Linked DNA regions of Homo sapiens: regions 2, 3, 4 and 5 are each linked to region 1. The links are contacts of gene promoters, found by promoter capture Hi-C in human tissues and cell types (Jung and others, 2019). All regions are on one chromosome and are shown on one strand. The core of a region is centred on a gene start or on the middle of the fragment in contact, and the rest is flanking DNA. Distances in the headings are between cores, read along the strand shown. Region 1 holds the start of IFT88 (intraflagellar transport 88). Region 2 overlaps ZMYM2 (zinc finger MYM-type containing 2). Region 3 has its middle 21 kb from the start of LINC00367. Region 4 holds the start of XPO4 (exportin 4). Region 5 overlaps XPO4 (exportin 4).

Evidence for each region. The method cuts DNA at HindIII sites, captures the fragments that hold promoters and counts their contacts. A contact is called where the count stands out against the background at its distance.
Region 2: a fragment that was not itself captured here is called in contact with the fragment with the promoter of IFT88 in region 1 in 3 of the 25 tissues and cell types used here (hippocampus, mesenchymal stem cells and stomach).
Region 3: a contact is called between a fragment that was not itself captured here and the fragment with the promoter of IFT88 in region 1, in 1 of the 25 tissues and cell types used here (mesenchymal stem cells).
Region 4: a contact is called between the fragment with the promoter of XPO4 here and the fragment with the promoter of IFT88 in region 1, in 1 of the 25 tissues and cell types used here (mesenchymal stem cells).
Region 5: a fragment that was not itself captured here is called in contact with the fragment with the promoter of IFT88 in region 1 in 2 of the 25 tissues and cell types used here (lymphoblastoid cells and spleen).

Annotation. Positions count from the first base shown.
Region 1 is chr13:20,565,666-20,568,565 of GRCh38, forward strand. IFT88 (intraflagellar transport 88) reads left to right here and starts at 1,492. Exons shown (of 26, transcript NM_006531.5): 1 at 1,492-1,591. It overlaps LOC105370103 (a long non-coding RNA gene), which reads right to left and starts at 1,364. Exons shown (of 6, transcript XR_941725.3): 1 at 1,011-1,364. RefSeq lists silencers at 1,192-1,601, 1,697-1,885. The HindIII fragment of the contact is 1,600 bases long and covers 132-1,731 here.
Region 2 is chr13:20,076,278-20,079,177 of GRCh38, forward strand. The region is part of intron 21 of ZMYM2 (zinc finger MYM-type containing 2); the gene reads left to right. Among named protein-coding and RNA genes, the nearest start is that of LINC01072, 25 kb to the right of the region's middle. The HindIII fragment of the contact is 4,922 bases long and covers 1-2,900 here.
Region 3 is chr13:20,926,581-20,929,480 of GRCh38, forward strand. No RefSeq gene overlaps it. Among named protein-coding and RNA genes, the nearest start is that of LINC00367, 21 kb to the right of the region's middle. The HindIII fragment of the contact is 5,494 bases long and covers 1-2,900 here.
Region 4 is chr13:20,901,223-20,904,122 of GRCh38, forward strand. It overlaps XPO4 (exportin 4), which reads right to left and starts at 1,524. Exons shown (of 23, transcript NM_022459.5): 1 at 1,448-1,524. The coding sequence starts at 1,516. RefSeq lists an enhancer at 1,287-1,336 and a silencer at 1,547-1,926. The HindIII fragment of the contact is 40,685 bases long and covers 1-2,900 here.
Region 5 is chr13:20,842,021-20,844,920 of GRCh38, forward strand. It overlaps XPO4 (exportin 4), which reads right to left. Exons shown (of 23, transcript NM_022459.5): 5 at 1,750-1,866; 6 at 875-1,028. Among named protein-coding and RNA genes, the nearest start is that of XPO4, 59 kb to the right of the region's middle. The HindIII fragment of the contact is 4,157 bases long and covers 1-2,900 here.

The sequences.
Region 1 (2,900 bases), core at 242-2,741:
AGAGCTGAAGGCAGTCTGGGGGCAGGATTCCTTCTTCCTCAGAGGACCTTAGTCTTTTCTCTTATGACCTTCCCTTGACGGGATGAGGCCAACCCACCTTGTGGAGGACCAACTGCTTTACTCAAGTCTAATTTAACTGTTAATCACATCTTAAAAAATACCAGCTATCATAGTACTCCAGAACAAAGGCAGTCAGTGTCTCTGCTCACAAAACACGGGAAAGTGCAGGTGACCCATGGAGAATTGTCCCCCAACACTATGTTTTTTCTTTTTTTGGATGGAGTTTCGCTCTTGTCACCCAGGCTGGAGTGCAATACCACCATCTTGGCTCACTGCAACCTCTACCTCCTGGGTTCAAGAGATTCTCCTGCCTTAGCCTCCTGAGTAGCTGGGATTTATTACAGGCGCCTGCCACCTCGCCGGGCTAATTTTTGTATTTTTAGTAGAGACAGGGTTTCACCACGTTGGCCAGGCTGGTCTCCAACTCCTCACCTCAGGTGATCCGCCAGCCTCAGCCTCCCAAAGTGCTGGGATTATAGGCATGAGCCACTGCGCCCGGCCAACACTACTTATTTTATAAAAACTCATTAATTACTGGTGTCTTTAGACTCCCTCTGTCCCTCCCCTCCATCCCCAACATTTACTTTTAAAATTTAAGACAAAACTTAAACATTAAACAATTATGAATTTAATTCCCCCATTTATATTACATTGATTAAGCTTTACACTATGACCCAGGTTCTAGGTGGTTGGGACACAATGGTTCAATCCCTGTCTAGTAAATAAAACGGACACCTTAAGCGCTACAATCAAGGTGCGCACGGGGTGCTACAGAACAATACGCAGACAGGAGGAGGTGGGGGGAAAGGTGAGACTTCCCAGGCAGGTGTCATCCCAGAATAACTTTTACACAGGGTGACTAAGCGAGTTAGTGACTGCGCGGAAAACGGGCTTCCAAGGTTCACAAGGCTCGTGCTGCGGCTCCGGGAGTTATGTCACAGTAAGCTTACTATCATCCTTTGGGCATCTGCTTTACGGATGAGTTCATCAGGATTTAAAGGATCTTGGTTCCATATCCTTCCCCTTCCTCACAGAGGCCGCCAGCCCGGAGCCCCTCTAGGCCCTCCTCCCTCCTGCATCTACTGGCCGCGAGCCTTTCCCTCCCCGCCCCCTTCACACAGGCCGCCCCCAGCCTCCCAACCCCCCGGTTCCGTTCCACGGGAGGCCCCGGCCTCCCTGCCCTCTCCTCCACCGTTCTACCCGCATCGCCCGGCTTCCCGCAAGCCGCTGGCACCGTCCCCTCAACACCCTCCGCCCACCGCCACTCCCTTCCACTGAGGGGGACCGGGCTGCCTTCTCTCTGACCCGCCGTTCTCCGCCCCCACCCACTTCCCCAGGCCTCCCGCACCACCCCCTTCCCGCCGCGCTCTCTCCCGCCCCCGCGCTTCCGGCCCCGCCCGCCCCCGCGCGGAGGACTGTGGGAGCGGCTTCCTTGGATTCCGCGCTTGGCAACGGCTCGGCGTCGCGCTTTGGCCAACCGCTGCGTCGTCCCTGGGCCCGAATAACTGTCGCCCGCTTCCCTCAGCGTGAGGTAGGAGAAGGGCGCTGGGGCCTAGTGCCTCAGGGCCCCTGGCAGCCGTGCCCCTGCGGCGTCCTGTGTGGCGCATCCCGCCGAGGGCCTCTTCGCCCGTCTCCTGCCCGCCCCTGTCGGCCCCGGGGCGGTCTGAGGCGGGGCCCCAGATGGACTCGGCCTGCCCCTGCTTTTCTTCCTCAGGCTCCCGAGTTGTCTACTCAGAAACGCGGGCGTTGTTTCTCACATCGGTGTCCCCAGCTCACAGGCTTTTCTTGCTCCTCTGAACTGGGACGGGCGTCGCTGACCGCTTGGCGATGTCCCAAGTCCCAGTCACGCCTGACGGGGAAACTTAAAACCCAGTTAGATTACTGCGCCAGCTCTGGAATCGCACAGCAGAGATGGTGCACATCGCTCTTTAATTTTCTTGTTAGGTGAAGCACTTCAAATTGCCTGATGAAAGTTGAATCAGGAATGAAGATAAAAGTACACAACAATGCAGAAAGCGGTACTTAGCCTCACAAAGATGGAAACATTCCAAAAACGTGAAGTACTGTTGTCCCAAGATTCTTTCTAAGCCTAAAATTACACTTTTACTAGTCCGATTTTCTGGTTGTGAGTTTTTTTTGTTTGTTTTTTTTTTTTCGAGAAACTGCAGTAGGCTTCTTGGAAGTAGACCAAGGGTGTCCAATCTTTGGCTTCCCTGGGCCACATCGGAAGAAGAATTGTCTTGGGCCACACATGAAATTCACAAACACTAAGGTAGCCGATGAGCTTTAAAAAAAATCGCAAAAAAGAATCTCATAATGCTTCCAGAAAGTTTACGAATTTGTGTTGGGCCACATTCAAAGCCGTCCTGTGCCACGTGCGGGCCGGGGTTGGAAAAGCTTGAAGTAGACTGTCCATAGTCAGTAGAAGAGTATTAAAAAACATACCTTTCACTTAAAAAAAAAAAAGGTTTTGCCAGCATTTGATTTATATTAAACATAGGTGGCATCATCCCCAGATTATTTCAACATGGAAAAGTTTGTTACATGTATAAGCTGCTTTGGAAATTGCCTGGAGAATCCAGAAACCCTGGGTTGTATAACAACAGTTGTTCTGCCACCCATAGCTATTAGCCATGCTTGATTCCCTTCAACTTTCCTGGCCTCACTTTCCACATCTTTTAATATTTGTATGTTCCACAAGATGTCTATTCAACTAAAGTCTCAAGTCAAACCTTTTAAAAATCTGGTTACAACCTAGCAGAAAGGATTTCTCATTCTAAAAGTTGCTTCCTTCTATAACTTATGTGTCAACTAAGCTGACTTAAATAGGGTTCATAATC
Region 2 (2,900 bases), core at 110-2,609, 490 kb before region 1:
TTTGCTGTTATAGACAGTGTATACTTTCCTTCCTCCTCTGCTCCCCTCCTGCCCCACACAAATCTTCTATAATTATCCTAAAGAACTGATGCATTTGTTTCTGAGATATGATTCCAGAAGGGGTATTATTGGATCTCAAGAAAAGTATATTTTTTATTTTTAAAGATATTAACAGATTTCTTTCCCAAAATGTTTGAGGATCTTTTTGTGTTTATTGACCATTTGCTTTTCTGTGAATTGCCCCATCGTTTATCTTTTTTAGTTTGTGAGTTTCTTGTTTATTATAGACAGTAAGTCTTTGTCATTTTTCCAAATTTTTCTCCAGAATTTTTATTTTTTACTTTCTACATGTTAAGTCTTTTATATGGAGGGATGTGTTTTTTAAGAAGAAAGAACTTTATTTACTAAATTAAAAAATATAGTAAACTCACAGTGTGGCTTGTTAATTTAATTTGTATGTAAATGGGTAGTTTTCAAATAATTAAATTCTATTAAAATACATAGAGGATTTCTAAGCTTATTTAATCCTTATTCAGAGGAATTTAAGATTTATTTTTTATTTTATTTTATTTTTTTTGAGACGGAGTTTCACTCTGTCACCCAGGCTGGAGTGCAGTGGTGCGATCTCGGCACACCGCATCTCCGCCTCCCAGGTTCAAGTGATTCTCCTGCCTCAGCCTCCCGAGTACCTGGGACTACAGGCCACCATGCCCAGCTAATTTTTGTGTTTTTAGTAGAGACAGGGTTTCACCGTGTTGGCCAGGTTTGTCTCGTTCTCTTGATTACAGGCGTGAGCCACCACGCCTGGCCTCTTTATTTTTTAATAGCAGTGATGAGGTTGATTCAGGCTATTTGAAACCTTCTTTCATTGGTTAATTTAGCAAACATTAAGTGCTGTTGTATGCTGGATACTGGACATTGGAGTAGGCTTTGGAGACTGAGATAAGCATGTTGACAACTTACATTTACTGACTGTTTACTGCTTTCCACATACTATGCTACGTGCTTGATGTGTCATTCAGTCCTCTCAACAACTTTACTATAATTATCAGCATTTTTTTATGAGGAAGTAAAGTTACTTGCCCAAGTTACACAGCTCATAAATTTTGAATCTGGTGAGCAGTTTGAATTAAAAGCCATTACAATATGTTCCACTGAAAGAGTTGAAATACACAGACAAATAATATTTAAATAATGTTATGCTCGTGTTGTATACAGACTTGGTAACACAGAATTGGGACTAATTAATTCTACCTAAGTATATACAATGAAAAAGTATAGGAATTTAGATGACATTGAGTTTTAAATTTTAAATTGAGTTTTGAAGTACATATAGAAATTTATTCAGCAAAGGGATGAGAGAGGGACAATGGCAGTACAAGGGCACAGTTTACCAGGAACTACTTAGCCTGGCTGGAATGTATAATGTGAAGTGGAGAAAGCTTTGGGGTATTGAGGCTGAGGGCTGCGGTAAGTAAGAGTCATACCACAAAGGCCTCTATTCCTTGATAAAATGTTTAGATTTCATCTTTATCCAGGGAGAAACATGAAAAGGTTTTAAGTTTTTTTCTTTTTTTTTTTTTGAGAGGGAGTCTTGCTCTGTCACCCAGGCTGGAGTGCAGTGGTGTGATCTGGGTTCACGCCATTCTCCTGCCTCAGCCTCCCGAATAGCTGGGACTACAGGCGCCCGCCACCACGCCCGGCTAATTTTTTGTATTTTTAGTAGAGACGGGGTTTCACTGTGTTAGCCAGGATGGTCTCGATCTCCTGACCTCATGATCCACCCGCCTCGGCCTCCCACAGTGCTGGGATTACAGACGTGAGCCCCACTGCACCTGGCCAGTTTTAAGTATTTTTAAAGATGATACTTGAAATTTTTTTTTTCTTGGGCGTAGCATCTGAAAGCTGGAATATTTTCATTGAAACACAAATTATTGTGCAGAACTACTGATTGATAGCTTAAATTAATGGTGGATTATTTTATATTATTATTAATGAAGCTTTATTCATATAACGTTTAATAAAACAACTGATTTGAGAGACTTAGAAGTAGAATCTATCTAATAGCCCTCAAATTATGAATGTCTTATATTCCCAATATTTAATTTTATAAATTGTTATGTATATTGTTTGCACACAGTGTTTCTTGCTTTAGCTAGCTCTCCGAAACATTTGACCATATGTTTGTCATATTAGTGACAATACTTGTCTGAACAAACATGCCAATAGTCTGAACATATCTAAAATACATGCTTTTCAACTCTCTGTTAGCTGTGTTTTATGAGATTTTCATTTTGCTTCTCAAGTACTAGTACCATAATTTCTGTTTAAGTAGATATCTGTCAACGTGCTGCTTTGCCCTACAAAGCATTTTTTATCCATAAGAAACAGGGCCTTTGAAATGTGGGTAGTCTGAAATGAGAAGTGTTCTGAGTATAAAATATATACAAGATTTCAAAGAATTGGTATTTTTAAAATGTTAAATATTTTTATATTATATGTTGGGATTACATGTTTTGGATATATTGGGTTAAGTAAAATATTATACTTTTTAACTTTTAAAATGTGGCTACTAGAATAAAGTTAAATGTATAACATGTTACATTTTTATCATTCAGTACTGCTCTTTACAGATGTTCCAAAATTATTTAGGGAACTCTAGTTTTCTCATGTATAGTCCCAAAGAAATCTAAGTGAAATGAGAGACCAGTAACTCTTAAAAAAGGAATTTATATTTAAAAAAAAAAAAGATACTTTTATTGGCTGGGCGCGGTGTCTCATGCCTGTAATCCCAGCACTTTGGGAGGCTGAGGCAGGCAGATCACAACGTCAAGAGATGGAGACCATCCTGGCCAACATAGTGAAACCCCGTCTCTACTAAAAATACAAAAATTAGCCGG
Region 3 (2,900 bases), core at 277-2,776, 360 kb after region 1:
GATCCCATCTCTAGCAAAAAATGTGAAAATTAGCCAGGCACGATGGTGCAGCTGTAGTCCTAACTACTCAGGAGGTTGAGGTGAGCCCAAGATATTGAGGCTACAGTTAGCTATGATTGCACCACTATACTCTAGCTTAGGTGACAGGAAGACAGTGTCTCTTTAAAAAAATGAATAATAGGCTGGGCATGGCTCACACCTGTAATCCCAGCACTTTGGGAGACTGAGGCGGGCGGACCACCCAAGGTCGGGAGTTCGAGACCAGTCTGACCAACATGGAGAAACCCTGTCTCTACTAAAAAAAATACAAAATTAGCTGGGCATGGTGGTGCAATCCTAGCTACTTGGGAGGCTGAAGCAGGAGAATCGCTTGAACCTGGGAGGCAGAGGTTGCAGTGAGTAGAGATCATGCCATTGCACTCCAGCCTGGGCAACAAGAGCGAAACTCCGTCTCAAAAAAAAAAAAATTAAAATAATAATGTATGTGTGTTTTCTTGGTTGTTGTTGTTTTAAGACAGGATCTCACTCTGTTGCCCAGGCTGGAGTACAATCTCGTTGCCAGGCTGGGGCACAATCTCGGCTCACTGCAACCTCTACCTCCTGGGCTCAAACAATCCTCACCTCAGTCTTCCCACTAGCTGGGACCACAGGTGTGCACCACCATGACCAGCTAACTTTTTTTTTCTTTTTTTGAGACAAGAGTCTTGCTCTGTCACCCAGGCTGGAGTACAGTGGTGCGATCTCAACTCACTGCAGCATCCGCCTCCTGGGTTCATATGATTCTCGTGCTTCAGCCTCCTGGGTAGCTGGGACTATGGGTGTGCGCCACCGCGCCTGGCTAATTTTTGAACTTTTAGTAAAGACAGGGTTTCACTGTGCTGACCAGGATGGTCTCGATCTCCTGACTGCGTGATCCACCCACCTCGGCCTCACAAGGTCCTGGGATTACAGGCGTGAGCCACCGCACCTGGCCAATTTTTTGTATTTTTTTTTTTTTGTAGAGATGGGGTTTCACCATGTTGCCCAGGCTGGTCTCCTGAGCTCCAGTGATCCGTACACTTTGGCCTCCCAAAGTGCTGGGATTGCAGGCATGAGCCACCATGCCCGGCCTAAAATAATAATGTTTTGAGGGAAATTTCTTTAAATTATTTTTATCTTTAGCACCAGTTATTGAGTTCCTCATTTGCTCACTTTCTCTACTGGAACTGAGAAGCTGGGGTTTACTAAATCTATGCCTTGACAATACCAATTCAAACTCTTTTCAGTTCACTAAGATAAGGAACAAGATCCCCACGTGGAGAAATAAAGCACAATCATCAAAGACAAATTGTAAACATCATTGAAACTTACACAAGAAAATGTCACATAACATTAGCTTCTTCTTCAGACTTTGAAAAAACAATCACTTGTTGTTAAAATTTTTTTAATCACATGAAAAATTTAAAATTTAATTAAATTTAAAAATTTAAATTTAAAAAATATTTAAAATTTAATTAAATTTAAAAACTACTTAAAATTAATTAAATTTAAAATGTAATTAAAAATTTAAAAATCACATTGATTCCTATAGCACTTGAAATCTCTGATTGTCCAAGGACTAAACGTTATAAGGCTTTTTGATGAGCTAAGGAAATTTTTCTCTTTTATTTTTCCTAAATATCATTTACATCTATAAATGATGAGGTAAAAGTGTGAGATTGATTCCCTGCCCTGCGCTGCCCTGAGACAGGGTCTCGCTCTGTCGCTCAGGATAGAGTGCAGTGATGCGATCATAGTTCACTGCAGCCTCAACCTCTTGGGTGCAAGCAATCCTCCTACTTCAGCCTCTTGAGTAGCTGGGACCATAGGTGTGTGCCACCACACCTGGTTAATTTTTAAAAATATTTTTTATAGAGATGGGGTCTCCCTACATTGCCCAGGCTGGTCTTGAATTCCTGGGCTCAGTTGATCCTCCCACCTCAGCTTCCCAAAGTGCTGGGATTACAGGTGTGAGCCACCACACCTGGCCTAAACTTATAAAGTTTTAAAAATATATTTGACCTACTAAAATTTACTTATGTATTTATTTTATTTTATTTTATTTTATTTTTTTGAGACAGAATCTGGCTCTGTTGCCCAGGCTGGAGTGCAGTGGCGTGATCTCGGCTCACTGCAAACTCCGCCTCCCCAGTTCAAGCGATTCTCCTGCTTCAGCCTCCCGAGTAGTTGGGATTACAGGTGCCCACCACCATGCCTGGCTAATTTTTTTGTATTTAGTAGAGATGGGGTTTCACCATGTTGGCCAGGTTGGTCTCGAACTCCTTACCTCAGATGATCCGCCCACCTTGGCCTCCCAAAGTCCTGGGATTACAGGCATGAGCCACCATGCCTGGCCTGTATTTTATTTTTTTGAGACAGAGTTTCACTCTGTCTCCCAGGCTGGAGTGCAGTGGCATGATCTCGGCTCATGGCAACCTCTGCCTCCCAGGTTCAAGTGATTCTCCTGCCTCAGCCTCCTGAGTAGCTGGGATTACAGGTGCGTACCACCACACCCAGCTAATTTTTGTATTTTTAGCAGGTACAGGATTTCGTCATGTTGGCCAGGCTGGTCTTGAATTCCTGACCTCAAGCAATCTGCCCACCTCAACCTCCCAAATTGATGGGCTTACAGGCGTGAGCCACCGCACCCATAGACCTACTAAAATTTAGAGTAGAAGATTCCAGTTAGCACAATAATTACCCTTTCTGCCTGACTGGATGCTTCAAAATAATTAACACATTAATTTTGTAGAGACAACTTTAGAACATGGTGACATTTTAAAAGCTGAAAAATGTTCACATAGAAGGAAAGTCATAGAAAGAATAAATATAAATGACTGATTAACATATGAAAAATGTTTAAGTTCACTAATATCCAAACA
Region 4 (2,900 bases), core at 274-2,773, 340 kb after region 1:
TTCTCACCTACTCCTTATAGGGGATAAAAGCAGCTTTGCCAGGGAAGAGGGAAGATATTGGAAAACACAAATACTAGTTTATATTAAGCCAGTGACGAAGGACACTGATTTTACCTGATCAGTGTAAGAACTACAGCCGTGTTTTGGGTGGCATACTCCTTCCAGAATCCAATGAAAACGGAGCCCCTAGCTCCTAGGAAAATTTCAGGAATTTTACAAAACGCTCTATGTCAGGGATTTTTAAGAATCTTTTATTAAGGGGAATACTAGCTAGTTACTTCTGCTTAATTTGCAAAAGTGTGAAAACCTTCACTAGTCTGTTTTGTGACAAAACGTACATTAAGTTAATATTCATAATGAAGCAAGTAAATCCTGCTTTTATTAGACTTCTCGATTTCTAAAGAAACAAAAATATCTGGTGTAAAATATTAGAACTACAAACTACGCTAGAATTAGTTCGAATATTCTCAAATGTGATGCTCAAACACCCTAACACCAAACCAAAAGGAAAAAAGTCCAAAAAGGTAACAAAGCTGGCTGTATCCAATTCTTAGAAAGTCTGAATCAATCCAGGTATCAAATGAACCTCTAACTTCCCAAAACATCTACAAACACCGAAGTCATAATTTGCAAAAACAAAGCTGAGCCAGCAAATAGAAACACTGTTTACTAACTGAACGTAGTTTATCCTTACTTCTCCTCCTTGCATGTAATACTTTTATCCTTTGACTCGGCCTTCTCAAATTCCCTTAGTAAACAATCTCATCAAACTGCTTATTGTAGTGTAAGCATGAAGTCAAAGAGTAGCATAGACTCAGTTCTCCAAATCGCGGGAGCTTTAAGGAGCTTAGCACTAGACCAAGTTTTGCCCCAATGACCTTGGTCTCAACGATTCCCCTCCCTCCCTCCAGCCGGCCCGGCCCTTCCACGTGCTGCCGGCTGCAATTACTCCAGAGGTGGCTGCATGTCAGGGAAGCGCTAGAGGATGCGAATGCACAGGAAACAAGGGTTGCTAACAGCACCCAGGCTGTGCCATCCAATCCCTCCCGACACCAACTCCCCAAGAGCGCTCACACAGCCCTACAAATTTCCCCTACCGAAGCCCTGCGGGGATAACCCCAACTCCTTCCCGGCGCCTTGCTCTGCGACCCAGTCTGTGGGGCAGGGTGTAAGGTGAAGAAATTCTCTTTGCTACACCACTATATTCCCACGCCCGACTGGGGTGCTGGGCAGCCAGGGGAAGGGGACAGCTCCTGGAAGGAGGGGACGACGGCAGGAGGAAAGTAGGCTGAAGAATCCTGCGCCACGCCACCGCCACCTCCTCCTCCACTTCCAGGCTCCCTGCAGGCCCTTGCCAGTCGCCAGCCCAGCGAGCAGCAAGGCCTGGAGTGGCAGGGCCGACCGGGGGCCCGCGAATCCCGGGGTCTGAGGGGCGCGGCGTCCTCACCATCAGAACTTTAGCCGCGTTCTCCAGCTGAGCGATCACTTCTGGGGGCCCCAGCGCCGCCGCCATCATGGTCTCTCTTCAATGACGCGCCATGCGCTGCATTCTGGGAGCGGGCGCCGCGGCCGGCCAATCGCCGCCGCGACCCCGGAGCCTCACGCGCTCCCAGGGCCGTCGCAGCCGCTGTCGACACCGGCGTCGCGGCCTCGGCGGGTCTGGCCGGGCTGCCGGGTTCCGGGTGGCTGGGAGGGGACTAGTGTGAGCCCGGCCGCCGCGCTGGGGCGGGGGCGGCCGCAGCCGGCACCGGGCGAGGCCGAGGCGGTCTGCCCAGACTGCTGCAGCCGCGCGCCCCGCTAAGCTCCCAGCCCCGCGCATGCGTGGTGTCCGGCGCCCCGGCCTCGCGGTGCCCCCGGCCCTCTCCCCACTACCCTAGTACAGCCCGCCCGGGGACCCGCAGATCCACGACGCCAGTTCGCTCCCTCCGTTCTCAGCCCTGCACACCGCCTCCCCTGGCTCCTCCTTGCCCTTCCACGCTCCAGCGCCGTGCAGGATTTCCTAAACTTGGAATCGCTCTTCCCGCTTTCCCCTCCTCAGAGCGCACCTCCTTTCAAAGTATCTCTGTCTCCTGCTTCTCTGTTCCTTCTTGCCATGGGAGAACATTCCAGGATAGAACGCTTCGTTTTCTTTCTTTCTTTTTTTTTTTTTTTGGAGACAGGGTCTCACTCTATCGCCCAGGATGGAGTGCAATGGCCCTATTTCGGCTCACTGCAACCTCCGTCTCCCGGGTTCAAGCGATTCCCCTGCCTCAGCCTCCTGAGTATCTGGGATTACAGGCGCCCGCCACCACGCCCGGCTAATTTTTGTACTTTTAGTAGAGACGAAGTTTCACCATGTTGGCCAGGCTGGTCTCGAACTCCTGACCTCAGGTGATCCGCCCGCCTCGGTCTCCCAAAGTTCTGGGATTACAGGCGTGAGCCACCGCCCCCGGCCGAACGCTTCGTTTTCATAATGGAGGGCTTTGGCCTTCTGCAGGACAATCATCCAAATGTATCTGGGCAGCGGGTCGCTAGGAGACCCTAGGAGGAAAACCCGTCTTTGGCTCTTGCCGTTTTCACTCTTTAAGGGCTGGCTCACATAGGAGAGGGAGAAAGCAGGGACAGGAAAGCCTGACCTTGACTACCTGGCTTCTCAAATGCAGTAAGATGAGCTTTGTCGGCCAGGCGCTGTGGCTCATGCCTGTAATCCCAGCACTTTGGGAGGCCAAGGCAGGCCTCATTTTAGCTCAGGAGTTCGAGACCAGCCTGGGCAACATCGTGAGACCCTGTCTCTACCAAAAAAAAAAAAAAAAAAAGCCCGGTGTGGTGTCTTGCGCCTGTGGTCCGAGCTTCTCGGGAGGCTGAAGCGGAAGGATTGCCCAGGAGGTCGAGAGTGCAGTGGGGCGAGATCACACCACGGC
Region 5 (2,900 bases), core at 103-2,602, 280 kb after region 1:
ACGGAGGCTATTAAGAGCTCAATAAATAGTAACTAACTCCTGAGTGTTTTAAATGTATTGTTTCATTTAATTCACACAACAATCCATACCCCCATTTTACATTTGGAAAAGCTGAGACTCAGAGAGGTTCAGGTGATTTGCCTAAGATGAGCAGAGCCTTGAATCCAGATCTATTGGACTTTACACAACAAATGGGTAGTCACTGTATATTACTATCAACGGGCAGCAGATGTCCCAGCATAGTAAATGAGACAGCAGTTCCTTAAAGTTTATGAAATACAAATTTCTCTACTTTAAGTAACTAATTTAAAAAGCAGATATATGCATTGATAATACAACCCACTTAAACTTTTGAATAATTTCCTAAAAACAAAATTCTCATTTTTTTATACTGGTAAAGGCCCTTGAAGAGTAAACATATTACTAACTTATTACCTATACTTGAACAACATCACCATCCATAAAGATTAAATTAGAGCACTCCAAACTAGCTTTAAGTCAGTCAAAAAAATCAAACATAATTACTTGTCCAAGGAAAAAATGATTCGGTTTCTTAAAAGGTAATTTCTACCTGTTTCCTTTTCCTTCCCAAAGAATAATGCTAATCCTGAATTAGCAACAGCTCCGTCATCCACCACGTTTCTATGTATTCAAACTTCTTCTACAAAGGAGTAAATACTTTTAAATCTTCTAGTATTATCCTAGTATCCACTGTCTTTTGGCATTATAAAGAAATTAAATTCTATTTCTTAAAAAAAATCTTATTTTCTTTCAATATGTTTTATGAAAGCTGCAGAGGTGAAAGACTCCGAGCTGTAATTAAGTCACCTATGAAAATTACCACAGATAAACTATTCATTTGTTAAAAGGATATAATTTGGAGGAAGAAAGTTCCAGCTCAAGACTTGATTGGCGAGTGCAAGGTAACGCTGAAATACTGAAGACATCTGAGCATTGAGGTTTTCCCGCCTGCTGAACTCCTGCAGAACTTCAACAGTTAACATGAAGATCTGACGAAGGTCTTCTTCCTATAGTCAATAAATCACAAATATTTTATATGAAAAATTTATTCAAAATGTATCCCCTTTTAGAATCATGAAACAAAACAAACACCTTAAAATTTCCAATGGAAAACACCATTTCCTTAAGAACGTGTTCCATTTTTAGGCCTCTACTTGTAATTTACATCGCAGTATGCTTTCAAGTGACGCCAGATGGAATACTTTTACTTGAATATAAATGCTACTTCCATAGAGAAGAGAGTCTTTGACAACTACTGCGGAGCCAGAGGAGTCAGTTGCTATAGTGCAGAGCCCTAGGATTTAAGCCAATGCCTTCACATAACTTTACTCCAGAGCCAAACAATACATACAAGACAAAGAGCCCGCACCATCTGCAATAACATTTGAAATACACGGCCTTCTGGCATTCTTCCAGACCTATTTTTAAGGCCAGCAGAGTCCCTTCAATTGAATTAGTTATATCTAAACACAATAAGAAATAAATAATAAACTAAAGATCTTTATAGAAGTATTGTTTTTAAGACTAGAATTAAACAAGTAATTTTAAACCATCAACTACATTCACCAAACCTATCATTTTACTATATCCTTTGAAATCACAAAACAAATCCTGAAGTACAGGCTACCATTCAACTACATAAAATAAATATTCTCATGTCATTAGGAATAGATTGAGTAAAAAGTGAATGATCCAATAATTAAAACTCAAGAACAAAACTACCAATACCTGAAAAACTCTTTTGCAGTTACCATGGAATTCCATGCTCAATCCAATGTTGCTAGTTTTACTTGAACTTGAAAATTCACTCAATAGCGCAGTCAGAATAGAACAGGCCAGAGTTTGCTGTAATTATTTGATAAGAAATAATTGTGAGGCATTACTGTTTCAACGCTTTGTTTCAATGCATTTGTTCAAACATAATAGAACATTTTCTCCCTAACTTTAGATCTTCCACTGTATCTTTAGATCTTATAACAACTAGTCAGAAAATCAGATATGACAAAATAAATATTAGCTCTCCTTTCTAAGTGGTCTGGTCAGTGTTAATAGTACTTCCTCAAATGCAGTTATACAAATCCATCTAAGACTTGAACTCAGGACACACTGTTCCTACTCAATAGTGGAATTCAAATGATATTTAAAAATAATAAATGTTGAAGGTATTATTTTGTTTAATTCGCAGAACAACCTATATCCTCATTTTACATTTGAGAGAAGTGACCTGGAGTACTTATCTAAGGCCAGCTGAGATTTCAACCCATGTTTGACCCCGTTCTGTTTGTAAAATGCATTCCCAAATAGATGAAAAGTGAAACAGATTTTATAGTGTCCAAAATATTATAGCCAGGTAATACCCAAAAGTTTTTTAAATAGAAAAATGAAGATTTTTCTTCTCATTGGTTCTATCCAACAGGCTCCTAATATCAACTCATTGATTTTATTCCCAGACTAAAACAGTCAAGGTACAAAGGATGGAAAGAGGATACAAATTATTTTGGCAACTTTCCAGGAGTTAAACAGAAATATGCACACTACCTCTGAACAACCGAAAGATTAAAGTCAAGATGATACTATTTATGCAAGCTTATCCAACAGCTGAACACTGTCATACCCACCCACCAACTGCAACATCTCTGTTCAGAAATGCTTCTGATGTCAGTACCTTGACCTTACAGATACTTATCTTGGCAAATCTTAGCAAATAACTTAATGATATTAAATTCCTAAAAACTGGCAGGAAATATCTGTTGAAGGTGAGAGGTGACTGATGGTTCCATGAGTGACTAATAGACTATCTGTCCATTTTGTATATGTCTGAAATTTTTCTTTAAAAAATGTAAACATAGGCCGGACACAGTGGCTCATGCCTGTAATCC